Linked DNA regions of Homo sapiens: region 2 is linked to region 1. The links are contacts of gene promoters, found by promoter capture Hi-C in blood cells and fetal thymus (Javierre and others, 2016). All regions are on one chromosome and are shown on one strand. Each heading gives the region's core, a stretch centred on a gene start or on the middle of the fragment in contact. The rest is flanking DNA. Distances are from core to core; before and after follow the strand shown.

What was found. Contacts are between HindIII fragments. The CHiCAGO score rates a contact against its expected background, and 5 or more counts as called.
Region 2: a contact is called between a fragment that was not itself captured here and the fragment with the promoter of CCNI in region 1, in 3 of 17 cell types (M1 macrophages, M0 macrophages and M2 macrophages). The highest score is 6.3, in M1 macrophages.

Annotation. Positions count from the first base shown.
Region 1 is chr4:77,074,739-77,079,226 of GRCh38, forward strand. It overlaps CCNI (cyclin I), which reads right to left and starts at 1,251. Exons shown (of 7, transcript NM_006835.3): 1 at 734-1,251. RefSeq lists silencers at 579-728, 789-1,138 and enhancers at 1,319-1,548, 1,447-2,417. The HindIII fragment of the contact is 6,616 bases long and covers 1-4,070 here.
Region 2 is chr4:76,514,793-76,519,280 of GRCh38, forward strand. The region is part of intron 1 of SHROOM3 (shroom family member 3); the gene reads left to right. Among named protein-coding and RNA genes, the nearest start is that of MIR4450, 57 kb to the right of the region's middle. The HindIII fragment of the contact is 936 bases long and covers 2,108-3,043 here.

The DNA.
Region 1 (4,488 bases), core at 1-2,500:
AAAACATAAACATTTTAGTTCAAACCCCTTCAGAGTCTGAATCCATCCTACCTCCCGAAACACCTTCCACTGTTTTGATACCCAATTGTCAACTTCTGCCAAAAGGATCTGTAACGGAGCCCCCTAGCTCCAGCGGAGGCTCCTCTGTCCTCCTTTCAAATTCCAGTTATTTAATCTAGCCTTTAGAGCACAACTCAAATCTCACCTCCCCCGGATTCCCCCCACCCACCCGCCCCAAGCCCTGGGTAACGTTGCCCTCCCCCGAATTTCACAGCACCGGAGGTTCACCCCATTCATTTGGCATTCAGTCTGCCGTGCAAAGTTAGTAATCCTCCTGGTGTCCCCGGAGAATCGTTCAACCTGAGGGTGGGGGTGTGTCCCCTTCTTTGTGTATTAACACGGGCTCGTAGAGCCTCCAACACGCACTATAGAGTAGCTAATTTGCCGCTGCCACAAAAAAAAGTTACTCGCTGACAGAAAAACTGGCCCGAAAAGGAACACAGTAGTGCCGTTTTCAAGTGGGCAGGTGACGGGTCTGTCTGGGCCGGAGAGGACGAAGAGGGCGGCCCCGAGGTTCCCCGGGCTGGGGGATGCGGGAGGGTGGGTCTCCGGCGAGCAGCGCGCGGCCAAGGGCGCTGCCACGGGGGCGGCGCGGGGGGAGCAGCGGGGCCCCAGCGCGTCGACGCCGGCCGCGGAGACGCGTCGAGCCCCCGCCCCCGCCCCCGCCCCTCACCTTCTCCTCCTCTTCCTCCTCCTCCTCCTCCCCGGCAGAGCTGTAGGCCTCACAGTGGTGACGCGGGGTCATCCGGGGGCCCGTTACCACCTCATTCTCATAGGCGCGCGGAGGCGGTGCGCGCGGGACGACTCGGCCAACTGAGGAGGGAGAAAGGGGAAGCGGATCGGGGGGCGCGGGCGCGGGCGCTGGCGCTCGAGCGGGACGCACGGCTGCGGCCGCTGGGTCGGTCAGCGAATTAGTTCCATGATGACCCCCGGCCTGAGGCCGCCGCCGCTCGAGCCCGGGTTGGGAGGGGGCTCCCTCTCGCCATAGGGCGGCGGGGGCCGGGGAGAGGCGGGGGGTGAGACCGGCTCTGCCCCTGCCCGGGGAAAGCGCCTCCGAGGGGAAATGGTGAAAGGGGGGGAGGGGAGAAAAGAAAAGAAAAAAAAAAAAAGAAAGGGGAAAGGGGGGAAAAATAAGAAAAAGCGAGACAGAGGCGCTGCCGCGTCCGCTCGCGGGGAAGGCTGGGGAGGGAGGGGAAGAGAGGGGAAGGGAGGAAGAAGTGCCGGCTTCCTCGGCTCCGCCCTCGCGGACCGATTCCTAGACTCGCCCACTCCTTGTAAACTACGCGGACTTGGTCTTTCACCCTTCCTGTTCCTCCCCGCCGCCTTCCCGGTCCAACGAAAGTACAGAGAAGTGCGGCCGAAAGGAGACGGGCTGGGGAAGTCGTTGGCACTAGGATGGAAGGAGGGAGGACGTTTTCTCGTGGCTAAGAAAAGCCGAAGGTCCGTGGACTCATTTTCCTTGAAGGAGCGGAAGGGTTGCTTGCAGACCGCACGGTGACGTCAGCGTCTCTGGGCCCCCACTGAGGGGGCGTGCGGTGGCCGGAGAGTGCGCTGCGCATGCGCCTGGGGAAGAAAGAAGCGGCCGAGCGCTGCGCTTGGGGGAGGGGATTTCACGATCCGCTCCTGTGGTCCAGCTTTACAGCAGCTTGGTTTTATCTAGCCCTACTCGTCCCCAGGCTCTTAGAAGGATTCACTGGGAAGGGGCTACTGATCTCTTGGGTGGAGATCTTGCAGATTTGTTGACCTAGCAAAGTATTACGTGTTCTTACCGTTGACATGTAAATAGAATTGCGGTTTTTCTCACTGCCACATTGTGTGGGTGGAGGGAGATTCTAAAGGGTTTTAGGAATCGGAAAATTAGGGAGAATCAAATCATGGGTGCTTAAGGCCTCAGTGAAACACTGTAAATTATACTGCTGACGGCGAGGAACCTGCTTGGCAATGTGGCAAGGGGATTTTATCCACTCAACCAACACGTCTGAGTATTTCCGAATAGGTTTTATTACCAGGTGCTTAAAGAATGTGTGGTGACATAAATGGGTTTTATTTGGGGTTCTGTTAGTACAAACGGTAACTTTTTGCTATTTTGATTGTTTTAATTATTTAAAAATATGTAGTATTACAGAGTTTTGAAAGAGGAAGAGCTAGATCTCAACCATTTATAGAAGTCTCGTTTGTTTTTTCCATTTGTTTTTTATATAGTTATTTTAACTGTCAGTGAAAAAATATGTGTTGAGTTTATTTAGTGGCCAGACTCAGCAAACTGGAAGTAGCCAAGACAGACATAGCTCCTGCCTTCATGGAGTTTACAGTCCAAACAGAGGATAACCATTGAGCTAATTATCACTATGTAAAATTACCAAGTACATTTACTTGTTTACTTGTGCATGTATCCCCTCCCTAGAATATAAGGTCGCAGGCGGCAGGGATCTTGCATGTTTCACCCTCTATCCCTGTGTATAAAAGGCTCTCAATATTTGACCAAGTAAACAATTCTGGTATTAAAACCGTTAAGATGGAAAATCGCCGGCTGCTGTGGAAACGCTTGCCTTTCCGCCTGGTTTGGGATATCAGAGAAGGTTTTTCTGAAGAAGTGACATTTAAGATGAGACTTGAAACCACTGGGCAAAGAATGATACAAGCAGAGGAAGTTATGTGAAAAGGCTCCGAAGCTGAGACGTTCTAAAAATCTCTGAAAGCTAGTGTGGCTGGCCCTCAGACAACTGAGGCAGGATGTGGAAGCAGAGGACAGATGCCATAGAACAGAAGAAGGAATGGGAAGCCCTAGGAGGATTTCAAGTGGGTTGTATCCTTTTTTTTTCTTTTTTTCACTTCATGTAGCCTATTATTATATGGTCTTCATTCAAAAAAGCCACCATTTTTCTGCATGTTACTCTTGAGACTGTAGCATTTCTGCATAATACTATTGAGAGTGTAACATAATTCCATTGTTAGACCATGAAATTGCTTCTGATTTTCACTCCAATAAGAATAATGCAAATTCCACTCCTAAATATATACCCAAGAGAAAGGAAAATATTTGTCCATGCAAAAACTTTTTTACAAACGTTAGCATTATTCATAATAGCCAAAGATGAAACAACCTAAATGTTCATCAGCTGGCGCCTGTATAAATCAAATGTGATACATCTATGTACAATCAAATTTTTATTTTTAAGAGATGGGGTCTGGCTCCGTGGCGCAGATGGGGGTGCCATGAGACTTCCTATGTTGTCCAGGCTGGTCTCAAACTCCTGGCCTCTAGCAATTCTCCCTCCTTAGCCTGAAAGTGATGGGATTACAGGCATGAGCCGTCACACCGACCTATACAATGGAATCTTATTGGGCCATAAAAAGAAAATACTAATACATGCTATAACATGCATAACCTTTGAAAGCAGTATGCTAAATGAAAGAAGCCAGTCACAAAAGACCACATATTATATGATTCCACTTACGTGAATGTCCAGAATAGGCAAATATATAGAGACAGAAAGTAAGGAAGTGGTTGCTTAGGGCTAGGGGCAGGCATGGGATTAGGGGATGATAGTTAAATGATATGGGGGTTTCTTTCTTTTTTTCTTTTCTTTTTTTCTTTTTTTTTTTTTTGGAAACAGGGCCTTGCTCTGTCCCCCAGGCTGCAGGCTGGAGTGCAATGGTGTGAACATGACTCACTGTAGCCTTGACCTCCAGGATCAAGCAATCCTCCTGCCTCAGCCTCCTGTGTAGCTGGAACCACAGGCGCATGCCTCCATGCCCAACTGATTTTTTGAAGGTTTCTTTTTGAGGTGAGAAAAATGTTCTGAGATTGATTGTGTTGATGGTTGCGCAACTGTGAATATTTAGGTTGAGTATTATCCAAAATATTTGAGACCAGAAGTATTTTGAATTTTAAACTTTTTTTTCAGTTTTGGAAATGTTTGCATTAAATTATATACTTACTGGTTGAGCAACCTAGTCTGAAAATCCAAAATGAGCATTTCCTCTGAGTGTCATGTTGGCACTCAAAAAGCTTTGGATTTTGGAGCATTTCAGATTTTTGTATCAGGGATATGCAACCTGTACTAAAAACCATTGAATTGTACACTTTAAATGTATTACTTCTATGGTGTTTGAATTATAATAAAGCTGCTACCCAAAAAATGAAAAACAAAAATAATTCAATTAACATCTTCATAACCTCTTTGGGGCTATTCCTAGGTCCAACAATATTATGTTTTTATGGCTTTTACTGAATACCAGTTGCCAGTTGCAAGGCAGAAGATTAAACCAATTAAAATGTTACCAGGAGTCTTTAAGAGCTCCCATTTAATTATATACTTATCCTTATTAAAACTATCTTACTGCCTATGAGATTGCCAGTGACAATTTAATCTACTATAAATATAATTACAAGTAATTAATAGGTGGGTAAGTAACTAGTTGCAG
Region 2 (4,488 bases), core at 1,326-3,825, 560 kb before region 1:
AAAGATGGAAGAGAAAATACTTGGCTCAAGAAAGAAAATGAGCTGGGTGCAGTGGCTGACATCTGTAATCCCAGCACATTGTAAGGCCAAGGAGTTCAAGACCAGCCTGGGAAACATAGTGAGACCCATTTGTTAAAAAAGTTCAGATGTGGTGGCTCACACCTGTAATTCCAACACTTTGGGAGGCCAAGGTGGGTGGATCGCTTGAGGTCAGGAGTTCGAGACCAGTCTGGCCAATGTGGTGAAACCCCGTCTCTACTACAAATACAAAAATTAGCTGGGCATGGTGCTGGAAGCCTGTAATCCCAGCTACTTGGGAGGCTGAGGCAGGAGAATTGCTTGAACCCAAGAGGTAGAAGTTGCAGTGAGCTGAGATCACGCCTCTGCACTCCAGCCTGGGTGACAGAGCAAAACTCTGTCTAAAAAAAAAAAAAAAAAAAAAAATTAGCTGGATGTTGTGGCATGTGCCTGTAGTCCTAACTACTCAGGAGCCTGAGGCAGAAGGATCAGTTGAGTCCAGGAGGTTGAGGCTACAGTGAGCCAAGATGGTGCCACTGCATTCCAGCCTGGATGACATAATGAGAACTTGTCTGAAAAAAAAAAGGAAGGAAGGAAGAAAATGAAAACCAAACAAGAGAAGAGAGGCTGATTCCATGATTTTCAACACAATAGAAATTTCCATTGTTCTCTGAGATTCCCTTGGGCTCTGGTCTTCAGAATGTTATTGTTATTATTATTATTTCCTTTAGAACTTCTAATGAGCACATTGACCATTGCTTCCAGGTTTTCGAATTGTCCTTTGCCCTTAAACTCCTCAGTGGCTTGGGTTTTATTCCAATAGAGCAGAGGATATGAAATATTTCTTGGTTAATGTTTCTGGGTTTGCAGTATCAGTCAGTGACCAGAGTTGGATTTTACGTCTAAAAACCATATAAACTCAAGCCGAGACTTGTCTGGGTGTAGACTTCCCATTGCCAAATTTAATTTTATTATTTAAAGTCATGTTGAGAAGTCATGTAGGTGGTCTTTCTTCTAAGCTAGGACAGACTTATCAGTCTCACTTGCCTGGTACTACTTTATGAGGTAAATAATTAATTTGAGATATTAGGCATAAGCTGGTCTTGATCTGTTCTCAAACTCCAGGTGGGTAGAAAGCTCAACTGTTGACACAGGGCCTGGCATGGGAAATGATTACATGGGAAGCCATGTCTGATAACCAGAAATGATACTTCATAATAACACAAAGATAATGAGAGAGATTGGGAGTCAGGTTAGTGTGTGAAACTAGCAGTAGACCGAGAGGGAAAGTGGGTTGTGATCCTTCTTTGAAGTCACCACAGAGTCTTTCTGCTCCTTCACCCACTATGGTTAGTGAATGACCAAGGATACTGACTTTACCTCCTACTATTACTCAAATGTATATCTCTTCTCCGTCATTTCTCCTGTTCAGTTCCTCTTTCTCTCTAGCCTGGTCAATTGCAATATCTTTGTAACATGTTTTCTAGACTGTAATATTGCTCCTATTATCCATCCTTCCAACTAGGAAAGTAATATTCCTGAAGTCCAAATCATGCCATGTCCCTACCTTATTAGTTCTCTGTGTTGAGATCAGATGAAGCTATAGGCAGAGATGCTCTTATGACATGAAGGACTGGGGTTCCCTTGTAAGACCATCAGAATTTGCCCTATCTAAGCCCCTACTCAGGAGCCTAGAGGAATCCCTGAACTGAATGGTCTGAGTCAGCTGATACTCTCAGATAACAGCACTTTGCTCATAATATATGAAAACAGGAGCATGATTTAGAAAAAAAAAAGGAACCAAAATCACCAGCTAATAGATATTATGCAATAAGCACATTACAGAAACACAAAGTCCTGGTGTACATCACCAGGGCAGTCCCTGAGGACAGTCTAGCCAATAACTACACTTAAGTTGGGTCTCCAGATCTGATTTTCTAAGTTTCTGATCCTGGATCCTTTCATAAATTATAGCTGCTACCTCCAATCCCACCCCAAGTCTCATGAACAGGAAATCTGTGAAAAAGTTTTACAGGGAGGTTTGAGAACTCCCTCTGAGCTAGCCAATCCAGAGTCTTGCTTTCAGCCAAGCTTCCATCATACCCAGATTTTAATGATGAGTTATTTATGTTCTCACTTAAGGAAATCCTTTCCTACCCTTTGGAACTTCTATTTATCTTGTTATTAAAACTGTCTTCAAATAGATTTCCTGCTGCAATACAACACACTTGGTGACTTTCTCAGTCTTACAATGGGATTAGATATTTAGTGCTGAAAGGATCATTGCAAGGAGAGCAATCAGGTTTCTTCTCAGTGACAACTGCTTGGTCTTCTTTGCTGTAAAAGAACTTTGCTTTGAGCTTTGATACATGGAAAATGTCTGCCAGAGGCCCTGGTGAGAAAGAGTCCGTGTGTCTGCCCATCTTGGGTCATACCCTTGTCATCCAGGAACTAACAAGTCACCCCAGTTTACATGCAGTTGGCATTGGATGGGTGTAGGCAAATCACCTGGACTATCAAAGATACAGTGTCTAAAAAAGGCTCACTTCCTCCCTATCCCAGGTGGTAACACTGCATCGCAAGTACAGGGCATCCCAAATACAGAACATCCCTAACCCTGCATGCCCAGGGCACTGTTCTCAGCTCTGCTGGTCTGACCAGGTAGTTTCACAGAATTCTTGCTTGGTTAACTTGTAGTTTTTTGACATGATGTGCTAGATAGGTAAGATTTAGGATTCTTATCCATGTAAATGAAACTTAAAAAGAATTTCTCCTGATTGAGTTGCTTAGGGTTTTTGTTTGTTTGTTTGGTATATATATATATATATATAAAGGGGATGTTAGGGCTGTAGTCAGTGGCTGATTATTTGAAAATTTCTTCAACAATATGGGTTCTGTTCTGCTAATTCTCAGACCAATGAGGGCCTGTGTATGCTAGCAGAGAGAGGAAAAGACTAGGGTTTTCAGATTAGGACTCTGGGCCAGAATTTGTTACCATGTGACCTTGGACCACTCATTTAACCAAAGCTTCCCAGCCATTCCCCGTGGAAAGGAAGTGGATTGAATGACCTCCCGGTAGCCTCACCGGGATATTGCGGCTGCAGCAGAGCAAGGGCTGCATATAGAAGAGGAACATGAAGACTTTTTCCTTACAAAGTAAATGATATGAATTGACTGTGGTAAAGTTTCTAAATCAGATTTTTTTTAGTCCAGAGGGACAGCTTTTAAAATGAGAGATTTATTTAAGTTATAAGGAAATATCTGTCAACCCTCAGAAATTGCAAGATGATTATTTTGGTTGTGTGTGTGTATGTGTGTGTGTATTCCTAGTGGAGGGTGAGAGCTTGACTCTTAAGAATCATATAAAATATCAAATTATCTCAACTTCTGATAAATAGGGGGAAAGACAGACATTTTGGGGAGGTTCAAACCTCTATAATTCTTTAGGCATTTAACCCCCCAAGAGCAGGGACTACATTTATTCATTCGTAGTGTCCTCCACTCCATATCAGCATCTGGCACCTAATATGCACTCCATAAATCTTTGTTGTGGTTGAATGAGATCATTTTCCCCATGTCTTTGAAAGACAGAGGCAAAAACAGAGTGTTCTCATTAATGGACAGGGTTTTATTTCATTTTCTTTCCCCTCCCCCCTCCTTCCTTTTTGCCTGTCTGCCTGCCTGCCTTCCTTCCTTCCTTCTTTCCTTCCTTCCTACCTTCCTTCCTTCCTACCTTCTTCCTTCCTTCCTTCCTTCTTGCCTGCTTGCCTGCCTGCCTGCCTGCCTGTGTTAAATAATCTGAATGATTTCAAAGAATCAAAAATGGCTGTTCACATTTGGTAGGGTTCTACGGAGCTTATCTAACATATTTCTAAATGAGTACTGTAACACATCTGGGGCCAGGCACCCAAGCCTGTTCCTGTGTACTCTCTCATTTGCCTAGAAAACATAAATACTGATACAGGTCAGGGAAGCAAACTCTTGAGGGCTGTATTAAAATTCTTTTTATTGCAAGCGATGTAAACTCAATGAAGCAAAAAGAAGATATTTATTGAACCAGTACAAAAAGCGCAAGGGCATAGAGATTACATACCCTAGAGATCACTGGAAGTGGAACAAGAATGGAGCTAGGAGTCTCCTTCTCCTAACACTGCCTCTCTCTGCTTGTTTTCTTCATTCACACCACAGTCTGGGTACACAGCTGGTGAAGCCTCAAGATGCGGCATAGCCTTGCCCTTGGAAGAGAACTGAGAGCTACTCTCTGGTTGTAAGTGAAGAAATCCCAGCAAAGGCTTCTGGTTGGTTAGGCTTAGGCCACATGCCCACCTGGGTGGCCAGTGAAACACTATGGTTGGGAAAACCTTAGAATCACTGACTGTAGACGGGAGGGCTATTCCCTTAAAGGAGGGATGCCTTTCCTAGAAAGGAGGGTGCTGGATAAACAAAGTGCATCTCTAGGGGTCAGGGAGT